3 separate regions of the Homo sapiens genome follow, and regions 2 and 3 are each linked to region 1. The links are contacts of gene promoters, found by promoter capture Hi-C in human tissues and cell types (Jung and others, 2019). All regions are on one chromosome and are shown on one strand. Each heading gives the region's core, a stretch centred on a gene start or on the middle of the fragment in contact. The rest is flanking DNA. Distances are from core to core; before and after follow the strand shown. Region 1 holds the start of NKX2-1 (NK2 homeobox 1). Region 2 has its middle 13 kb from the start of PAX9. Region 3 overlaps MBIP (MAP3K12 binding inhibitory protein 1).

Region 1 (3,415 bases), core at 482-2,981:
GGTCGCGCCTGCAGACAAGGTCTGTATTCAGCGTTGCCAGTTCTCCTCTGTGGTTCGCTTAAGCCCGGCGTCGCCTCCCCTCCTTGCTTAGCCACCACAGTGATCAATGCTCAGTTCGTCGGGGCCTGAGAGCGCCCCCCAGAGAAGCCCCTGGGAAGGAAGGGCAAGGAGCCGGGCTTCGCTCTGGTCTTTCGCAACACCAGCGGCGAGCGCGTCTCCCTGCGCAAACGTAGGGTGGCCTCCCCAGCTCTGCCGTGGGGACCGCACAAAAACGCGGGCGCAGGTGGGAGGGCGGAGGGTGTCCTGAGCTTTCTTTACCCTGGTAAAGAAGGTAGGCGGTGAGAAAAGCGAATGTTATTATAGAAGTTGGCTTTGTATTGAGGGAGTAAGAGCTCTCTTCAAGGAGAGGGCTGAAATCTTTAAAAATAAATAAAACTTTCTCTACTGTAATTGCTATTAATAAAAAAAGGGAGCCCGGATGAATTAAGTAGCTCAAAACTGCCTGTTCGTCATGATCAGGAGCTCCTTCTCTACAAGGAGGGGAAAGAAAATGTGAAAACAAAAACTAAATTCAAGAAGCTCCTTGACCAGCGCGGGTGTCTTGGAGGCACCTGCCGGGGCCGGCCGGGGAGCGCTCCGCCCTCCCAGCCCCTGGCGCGCAGAGGAGACTAAAACAGCTAAGGAGAAAGCAAAACAAAAACAATGATAAAAACGTTTAAAATCCAAGGACAAAAACCGGAGTCGGTCTCAAAATCCGCGCCGTTCAGTGCTCCACTCGGTAGTCGACTCGGCTGCAGGCCCCGGCCTGGCCGGAGCAACGCGGGGGACACCCCCGATTCCGCTGGGGAGCGCAGCCCACAGCTCCCCCTCGCCAGGCGCCCAAGGACCCTCAAGGCGCGGGGCCCACACTTGAAGCCTGGGAACGCGCAGACAGGAAACCCTCTTCCTCCTAAGCAGTTTCTTGCTCGTCGGATGAGAGGCGCCCAATTGAAGCAGAATGATCCTCATCTACTAATATCCAGCGTGGCCACAAAGCGACTGGCCATTTACGCCACCACTTTAAACAAAGATATTTGGTTATTCCCGGGAAGCAAGAGCACTTTTGCATGGCTGAGCTGCGGGCGGAGGCGAGCCTCGGCCCAGCCTCCCGCCCGCTGAGCTGCCCGCACCTCGGCATTCGCCCCCTCCTGGCCAGCGCTCCAGCCGCCGGGGTTCAGGCTCAGTTCCGCCCGGCAACAGACAGACGGGCACTCACGCCGCTCCCTGCTCGCGCGCTCCCTGAAGCATCAGAGGGGAAAACAGCGTGGCTCTGGGCTCGGGTGCTGGGGCTGTGATGTCCTCGGAAAGTCAGCTCCAGCCCCAGATCCCCGCGTGTCTGGGAGATGGGCGAGGGTCAGGGACACCAGGTTTGTTCGAGGTGGGGCAACTTCAGTGACGGACCCTCCCGTGAGACCCCTTCCCATCCTCCCAGCTCTGGGGGCCAGTGCTGTGTTTGCTCGGCCGGGGGTGGGGGGGGGGGGGGAAGACCTTGGGGGAGGCGTGTTAGCGGGGGTGGCCCACTGAAAAACCCCTGAGCTGCGGGGGCGGGTTGTGGCTCGGGGATCCGGGACAGCCTCCGGGAGGCAGTCGATCCCCTACTCAGCGCCCCCTCCGCCCGCTCGGATTCTCTCCGGTAGGGGGAAAGGGGGCGGGGAGCAGAGGTGTCCCTCTGACGGCGGCAGAAGAGAGGCAGACAGACTGACAGACACGTAGACCAACAGTGCGGCCCCAGGGTTCGTCCCCAGACTCGCTCGCTCATTTGTTGGCGACTGGGGCTCAGCGCAGCGAAGCCCGATGTGGTCCGGAGGCAGTGGGAAGGCGCGGGGCTGGGAGGCCGCGGCGGGAGGGAGGAGCAGCCCCGGCAGGCTCAGGTGAAACCCCCACCCTGTCCCTCAGCCCCCTCCTCCTAAAGACCTGTCCGTGCCCGGGGAACCCCGACCGAATTGGAAAGTGGTTCCACTTTGTAACTCCGCAAGTTGGTTGCAAAGCAGCATTCACCTTCCTTCCTCTCAACCATCTCTCCTCCTCTGTTACTCCCCCACCCCACCTCCTGCCCTCCCCGCTCTCGGTTCCCTCCTCCTTCCCCTCCCCTCCACCTCCTCCCCGCGCTCCGCTGGTACCCCACAAAAAATGGGGGTGGGGGTGTCCAAGGGAGGGGGGAAATGCTTTGGGTCTCGTCTCTGCCTCTCTCTCTCTCTCTTTGAGACCTAAAAATCCTGACAAGTGAAACTTAAAGGTGTTTACCTTGTCATCAGCATGTAAGCTAATTATCTCGGGCAAGATGTAGGCTTCTATTGTCTTGTTGCTTTAGCGCTTACGCCCCGCCTCTGGTGGCTGCCTAAAACCTGGCGCCGGGCTAAAACAAACGCGAGGCAGCCCCCGAGCCTCCACTCAAGCCAATTAAGGAGGACTCGGTCCACTCCGTTACGTGTACATCCAACAAGATCGGCGTTAAGGTAACACCAGAATATTTGGCAAAGGGAGAAAAAAAAAGCAGCGAGGCTTCGCCTTCCCCCTCTCCCTTTTTTTTCCTCCTCTTCCTTCCTCCTCCAGCCGCCGCCGAATCATGTCGATGAGTCCAAAGCACACGACTCCGTTCTCAGTGTCTGACATCTTGAGTCCCCTGGAGGAAAGCTACAAGAAAGTGGGCATGGAGGGCGGCGGCCTCGGGGCTCCGCTGGCGGCGTACAGGCAGGGCCAGGCGGCACCGCCAACAGCGGCCATGCAGCAGCACGCCGTGGGGCACCACGGCGCCGTCACCGCCGCCTACCACATGACGGCGGCGGGGGTGCCCCAGCTCTCGCACTCCGCCGTGGGGGGCTACTGCAACGGCAACCTGGGCAACATGAGCGAGCTGCCGCCGTACCAGGACACCATGAGGAACAGCGCCTCTGGCCCCGGATGGTACGGCGCCAACCCAGACCCGCGCTTCCCCGCCAGTAAGTGAGGCCGCCCCACTGCGGGGCCGCGGGCTGAGCTCAGGAGGTGCGGCGAGAGCCGTCCAGAAGGCGCGGCGCCGGCAGGCTGCGCGCTGGGCATCAGGGAGGGCGGCCCGGCAGCGGCGCCAGGGACTTGGGTGCGGGAGCTGGGGATGCTTCCCCCTGCTCGGCTGGGGGTCCAAGAACAGGCACTTGGTAGCGCTGGGGTCCTGCGGTCAGATGCGGGTACTCGGCGTCTCCTAGGCGCGGTGGACTGGCAGCTCTGCTCGGCGCAGAAGACCTCGGGGAGCCAAGGGAAGCGACCCCGAGCTCAAGGAGCAGGGGCGAGCAGAGCGCGGAGAGGCTAGACCGGGCCAGGAGGGAGGCTGCCCTGTTGGGAGGCACTCGAGCGCCCGGCCCGGCCCTCTCTCCAGCGGAGTCTGGGCAGGTGGGAGGAC
Region 2 (3,550 bases), core at 174-2,673, 130 kb before region 1:
AGACTTTTACATGTTTTGGAGAAATCACCATGCAGCTAACACAAAGTCAACCTTTGCCATCTGTACTTGCTCACAAATCCCCAAAAGCAGGTAGATTGGCCTTAGCTACACAGCATTAAGGAAACACGAGCTTCAGCCAATCCAAAGTGGAGTTTGGAGCGATGAGAAGCCACTCAAAGTTATCAGTGTTCTGTGGCTGTTCTCTGATCCATGGTTTAAGTCCACTCATACAGTTGGACCAGAAATGATGATTTTGACAAACTCCAGTTTATCTCCTGGAGCTTTCTTGGAACATCAGTTTGGGTTATTTTCTGTAGTATAGTTGTACGTGCCAATCTCAGGGCAGCTGCCTTTCTTTAAGCTCATGACTGAGGGTGGCAAGAGGTAGTGATTAGTCATCTAACCTCTCAATAGCTGTAAATACTAATTGAATATTTTGAACAACTCTTCAGGTCACATGACAACATGTGGCCATTTGCTTCTTAGACTTCTATTGCATAGCTCGGGGAGCAAATATTCTTTAATAATTGTTAAATATATCTTACAAATCTTCCAAAGAGGAAAAAGTCTCCATCCAAAATTAAACACAGGTTATGTGCTAAAAATGGGCAGTTGGAACTAAAACATAGCTGTTATTATCTTTTCTACAATAACATTTACACACTATTAACTTTTCTGCAATAACGGAACATTAAAGAATAAAATGTAAATTTTACTGCTTTATTTGCAGGGATGAAGGTCAGAGTGTCAAATTGCAGATTTTGGATCCTCAATAATGGGCCGCTGTATTTAACCTCTTCAACTTCTTTTCTCCACTTATAAGAAGGAACAAAATAAAATGTTTTGTGGAAGTTTATATTGAAATGAGGTCAGGTAAACTAATGACTGCTTGGTATTTTATGACAAGTTTTATAACCTTGGAGTTGCCATAACTTTCAAACGATCATCAATAAAGTTTTATTGCAAAAGGGTCGCCATGTGTCTGAATGCTTTTGCACATAGTAAAGCTATGCTGCCCCATTGTCGTAGCTCACCAGCCCCTTTTCACCCCAGCCATAAAGTCCTCTTCTTTTTTATTGGAGGTTGAAAAGTCCTCGGGTCTGCTCTCCTCCATCAAGTTGGCAATGTGGGAACAACACAGAAATTAAACTACATGATTAAATGATCGTACACAACCAAATCTTCAAGAATATGTAATAAGACTGCTTTTTAATAATTATAAATTTGGATTTTAAATGGGTTCCATTTAATAAAATAAATGACAGTGGGCGGCGGGTGGGAAAGGAGGAAGTCAGATGAGAGTTTCCTCCAGAAACTTGTGTTTGAATGTTAGATAAGACCTATCAGTCTACCCGATATACCCAGAGGGCTGCCATTAAATAATTAGGTGCTTAGGGACCGATAATGGTCTCAAGACAAAACAACGAATTGCTAAAGACTCTTTGAGCTGACCCGAGGATCTTAAAGATTTAAGAGGCCTCGCATTGCGTCCTAACTTGAATTTTCCCACGGAGGGAAGGGTTGGGCTACAGCTCATGCTTGCCCGATTGCTGCCTAACACATTCCCTAAACGCTCCCTAAAGCCAAACCAAGAACTTCAAGTGTCCACTTCACGGCATCAGCTGTCAGGTTCAGGTTCGGGTCCGCCTACTCCTTGTCCACTGCCGAATGCTATGTGGAAATGAAGCCGAGAATAATGTCCTGCGATTTAGATGAAGAGAACAGTAAGAAAGGTAGTATGAAACGAAGCTTCTACTGACGCGCCCTTCAGACAGGTATTCCGCAGGCGAGGGTTGTGACCCAGGGAGAGAGTGCGGGAGTGCTAGCAGAGCGGCGGGAGCGGAAGGAGAGGCTGGACGAAAGTTGGAAAATCATCCCATCTCGGGACTTGAGTGCGAGAGCCCGCCCCGGAGTCGGCAAGTCTCCAGGGTTAGAAGGCCCTAGCTCCAAAGTTTTTTGTCCCGGCTCAGGCAGGTCCCCCACCTCTAACCTTCCCCGATTTGCCTGGTTGCTCTCGGGGAAGGGACTGGTAAATACCGCCCTCTCCCGGATTTCCTGAAACTCTCACCAGCGCGCTGAACCCGCTCCTTCCCACGTTCGGCGCCCCGCACTCTGCGTCTGCGCCCACTGCGCGTCACCTTCCCTCCGGCCGAGACCACTAGAGCCCTAGATCCGGGATCTGCGGAGGGAACAGGACCTGAGCCCCTGCTGGACCCTGCAACTTGGCTGCGGAGAGCGCGCAGCCACAAGCGCCGTTCCTCACTTGAGGGCTTCGCGAGAGCTGGCTCAGCCCCGCGGGTCCCCGCCAGTCCTCGCCAGCCCTCGCCAGCCCCGGTCGGCCCCACGCTAAGTCCGCAGCAGGCGGGAAACCCCGCAGGCCTTCCCGGACTCACGAACTGCCTACTCCCACCCCTAAAGAGCTCAGACCTGAAGGTGCTCTTATGGTGCGTGGCCGCAACCCCGGAGTGGAATGGGTGGGGGGCCTCCATGGCGAAGGAGACGCCGTGGGCGAATCGGCTCCCAGCTCGCCCCTCATGTCCTACAGGTCACTAGCCGAGTCCCTACCCCGGGCGCTCCCATGAGGCACCAAGAGCAGCCACGGCCCAGGGAAGGGCCTGGGTCTTCACTGCTGGAGCGGGCCCCAGTCGAGGGCGCGCAGGTGTCGGGGTCCCCAGCAACCTCCGTATGCGCGGAAAGCCGTAAACGGGGTTCTGAGGCCGGCGCCAGGCACAAGGATCACCCCGCGCCACGGGCCACGGCTCAGAGCGCCCACGAAGCCCGGCTGCCAGGTCCAGGCCGCGGCCGGGCGGGACCCACTCGCTCCCCACGGTGCTGGCGCGGCGGGAGTCGGGCTGGTTAAGGCGGGAGGCCGGCACTGCCACGGGCTGTGGCGCCCCCTCCCGAAGACACCTCGCCGGAAGTGCGGCTCCCGCCTGGCAGGCGCTGAGACTCCTCGGCTGTAGCGCGAAGGCCCCGGTCCGCGCAACTTCCCATAATAACGCCGCGAAATGCCTCCAGAAATGCCTGTGTGGTATGGTGTCTGAGCCAATGGTCGGCATTCGTCTTCCCCAAGTGCGGAAAAGAGGATCCCAGCTCCCCGGGATGAGCTACGTACCCACACACGCACGCCGGCCCCTGTGCCCCCGTCAGGGGAAGCGCAGAAAGGCGGGGACTCCCCGGGACGCAACTGCCTAGTATCACCTACCAAGAGAAGTTACTTTTTTTCCGGGATCACAGAACCCCCCCTTCACGTCCCCAAGTCTCCAGCAAGAAGTGGGAGAGGACGTGTGTGGCTCCCCAGAAGCAGGCTCCAAGTTGTCCCGGGGGCAAGCCCTCTGGAAGGAACCTTGCTCTGCTGACCCAACTTGAGCAGGGCCACCCTGGCTGCGGTCATCTCCACTCCGGCCTCAGGGACGAACCCAGCCGCTCTCTACACCACCACTGGAAAGGGGAGACCCTTTCCTCTTGTATATGCCAAAGAGGTTAGACGTTCTTTTTTCAGAGTAACATTTAAAAAAGAAATTAGATCAGACAGAGGGAACAAAACTTC
Region 3 (3,271 bases), core at 754-3,253, 200 kb after region 1:
ATGTGATACTTTGCTTTGGTTGAGGATTTGCCTGCTTTATCCCCAAGCTGTATTCTTAAGTTTTCTATAATCAACTATAGATCTCCTTGAAGACTATGAAAGTACATTAATGGGTTACTTCCATACATAATACAGGTTGTTGTCTAACAAAATCTTTATAGGAATTAAAGTAATATAAATTAATGCATTAACTTTAATGTACAATCTTAATATATTCTAATCTTTGCCAGTGCAGCCTACATGAAATTTCATATCTCTTTATACTTGTCTAATATGGACTTTTAAATGCTTCCATTCTCATCTTCAAAGGGCAGTAAATTTCTGTCACATAGTATTTATTCAATATATTATCTTTTTATTGGTAACCTTATATCTTTTTGATCTTTGTACAGTGATTCATCTTTTTTATTATAATTGTGACTCATAAAATCTGTATTTGAACTCACGTAACACCTTTATTTTGTAGAAAAGATGACTCATTTTGAATAAATTATGTTAACTTGATTCTACTATGAAGTATAGTCTTATACTATGCTGTAAACACATGTCCCTAGAAAAGTTTTTGATGGTTCACTTTTATTCATTCAAAAGACTGCAGATGGGCGCTCTCATTGTAAAATTTTCACTCATTTTGATAATAATCTTATATTCAGGTTCTTGGTAGTTTTCTGGATATGATTTTATTCTATTAGATCACCAACTGATAGAAATTTCCATATAATGAGCTGTCACATCTTAGCATTTACAAAAGATCTGGACATTTCATCCAGTCTGACAACTTATTTCACTGTGGTGGAGAAGTCTTTGTTTTTCAGCTTCAGACTTCCATTGCTAAATAATAGTTTTTTATTTGAAATAAACATGTTGCCATTTATCCCTACACTTTATATGTATGAATAATCTTGACTTTTAAATTAGTTTAAAAATCGGTTAAAAGTTAAAAAACTAAAAATGTGATTTGGAGGACATCAGAATAATGATATATTTCTGATATGTATTTGTGTACATACTTAAAGAGAAAGATGCATGTTAAAACTTTCACAAAACACTTGTACTTCCTCTGTTTAAGGCTCTGAGCTAGAAGTAGTAGGATTCTGAATAGGGCAAGCCTATATTGGACTCCATCCAAAGGTTTGTATATATTGAAGTATCAAAAGAGCCTTCATCTTTTCATCTTTCATGAATGGTTTTACCTCTAAAATGGTCCCATTACACAGACCTAAGAATAGAATTTGAACGACATGTCATTTTGTTTTTGTTTTTTTATGAAAATCTGTAGCTTTCTTGGCCTTTTGAAATGGTAACTGGGTAGAGCATTTCAGTGTATTATTAAAAACTTGATAACTTAGAGCAAAATAGACCCGTTACTCTAGAAATCTTATTTTTGTGACAATTCCATATGTAGAGCTTAATCGTGTAATTTTTGTGATGTTGCTGGTTTGCCCCTTTGAAGCTTGACCTCAGAGATGATGTGGTGAAAATTACAATCGATTGGAACAAGCTCCAGAGCCTCTCGGCATTCCAGCCTGCATTGCTCTTTAGTGCACTTGAACAACACATTTTATATTTACAGGTAAATTTCTTGTTAGAAATGATAACCCGATATTGAAAATAGAAATTGATTGTGGTTAAGTTAGTTGGAGTATTTGACAGTTCTAAACACTATATTAATAGTGTTGCTAATAAAACGTTATTTACATCCGGATTTAATCTAAATCTGTTAATTTCAGTAGTGATCAGGACAGTTAAGGGAATATAGCCCAAAAGACCAATGTGGGTATGAGTGAATGAATGCAATTCTATTCAATTCTAGACCTGCACTGAAAATTCAATACAGTTCCATCTATGGTGGGTTATAATTAAGCAATAAGACACGGCAGGTGTGTGTCATGCTATGATAATGATTCCATGCCTTGGGTGAGTTTGGAGGCTCATGGAGTGCTTTCAGTGGTTCAAGAAGGGGCATTATCCCAGCATGACACATCCTGGAGTGTCTATTGCAATTAAACAGTTTCAGCATAGTTTTTAAAAAGAAAGTAATTTCTATGACATTAATGTCTCATCTTAGTAAGTAGCCAGTCACTATTTTATCATTTCTTTTCCTTAACAGTTTGAAATAATTCATTCTTTATATTAGAAGTTAATATTGAATTGGTATTTATAATAGTGTTGTTATATTTTTAAATATTTCATGTTAATAACTGAACAGTATTATGACCTTGCTGGTTTCTAATTGAACATCTTTGCAATTATAATTGATGTAAGTTTGCAGTTTATCTCTAATCAAAGTGTAAAATGTGAAGTGTCAAAAAGATAAGTGGAAAAACTGGATTGGTCAGTTTACTGTGATTAAGGTGTTATAAGATTTCAAAAGAGTAGTATAGCGAACAATGGAAGCAAAATTGTAGGTATGAAAAAAATAATTGGAACGTTATTAGTGTTAGTGTGTTTTGACTAATGGAATAGGCATTAATTTTCAGCCCTCCATTCATTGACTTTGTGGGAAATTTTAACTGTTTCATGTTAAAAGTAATAGTTAACCCTGTTTTTAAAGGGCAGAGCAGTGAGCTCTAGAACTCAAATGAGACCTCATTGTGGGGAGTGGGGGAGGGGAACAGTAAATGAGTAATATAGTTTAAATTCTACAACAGGGGTTTTCCCCCTGTAGTATAGTGATAGGCCTCTGCCTGTTTTCAGCTATAGATCTTTTTTTTTTCTTGTTCGTTTTCTTTTTTAAAATTTAATTTTATGACCAAAAGATATCTTGCCATGTCAGGAAAAGTCTGAGTGTTCACTCAGCCTAACACCTATATATTTCATGTCTATGCTTCCTCATTCACATTGGCCAACTGCAGTTTCAAGTGGAGAATCTCCAGTGATACAGTGATAATGCAGGGCTTTGCTGAGTGAGAGCACTAGCTCTCGTGTTAAGGAGGAAAAATACTAAGCCTTAGTGTTCTGAGGAGGCATTTGAATGACATGTTAATTAAGTGGCATTGGTGCCAGAGGCTGAAGGCTTTGATTTGGCACAAAATAAAAGATGAGTGACAGAATGATTCTCTCAAAGAAAATTTTAAATTTCCTTAGGTTTTCTTTTCTTTTTTCTTTTCTTTTTTCCTCTCTCCTTTTTTAAAAAACAAATTTATAGCAAATGATAATGGTTACAATAGCAGAGAATAGTGAGTACTTATATGTGGTCAGATCTATGTGTCCTGGTATACCAACTTTTTATATTTATTAACTGATATTAAGTATTTCATTTACTTAGCAG

The links. Contacts are between HindIII fragments. The study calls those that stand out against the background at their distance.
Region 2: a fragment that was not itself captured here is called in contact with the fragment with the promoter of NKX2-1 in region 1 in 4 of the 25 tissues and cell types used here (H1 embryonic stem cells, heart right ventricle, mesendoderm cells and 1 more).
Region 3: a fragment that was not itself captured here is called in contact with the fragment with the promoter of NKX2-1 in region 1 in 2 of the 25 tissues and cell types used here (aorta and dorsolateral prefrontal cortex).

Annotation. Positions count from the first base shown.
Region 1 is chr14:36,518,548-36,521,962 of GRCh38, reverse strand. NKX2-1 (NK2 homeobox 1) reads left to right here and starts at 1,731. Exons shown (of 3, transcript NM_001079668.3): 1 at 1,731-1,910; 2 at 2,593-2,978. The coding sequence starts at 1,834. It overlaps SFTA3 (surfactant associated 3), which reads left to right and starts at 2,407. Exons shown (of 5, transcript NR_161365.1): 1 at 2,407-2,495. It overlaps NKX2-1-AS1 (NKX2-1 antisense RNA 1), which reads right to left and starts at 2,685. Exons shown (of 2, transcript NR_103710.1): 1 at 2,284-2,685; 2 at 1-319. RefSeq lists enhancers at 1-315, 316-1,315, 1,316-2,315. The HindIII fragment of the contact is 7,239 bases long and covers 1-3,415 here.
Region 2 is chr14:36,646,618-36,650,167 of GRCh38, reverse strand. No RefSeq gene overlaps it. Among named protein-coding and RNA genes, the nearest start is that of PAX9, 13 kb to the left of the region's middle. RefSeq lists an enhancer at 1,987-2,816. The HindIII fragment of the contact is 7,467 bases long and covers 1-3,550 here.
Region 3 is chr14:36,314,995-36,318,265 of GRCh38, reverse strand. MBIP (MAP3K12 binding inhibitory protein 1) reads left to right here. Exons shown (of 9, transcript NM_016586.3): 2 at 1,454-1,573. Among named protein-coding and RNA genes, the nearest start is that of MBIP, 4.0 kb to the left of the region's middle. The HindIII fragment of the contact is 5,986 bases long and covers 1-3,271 here.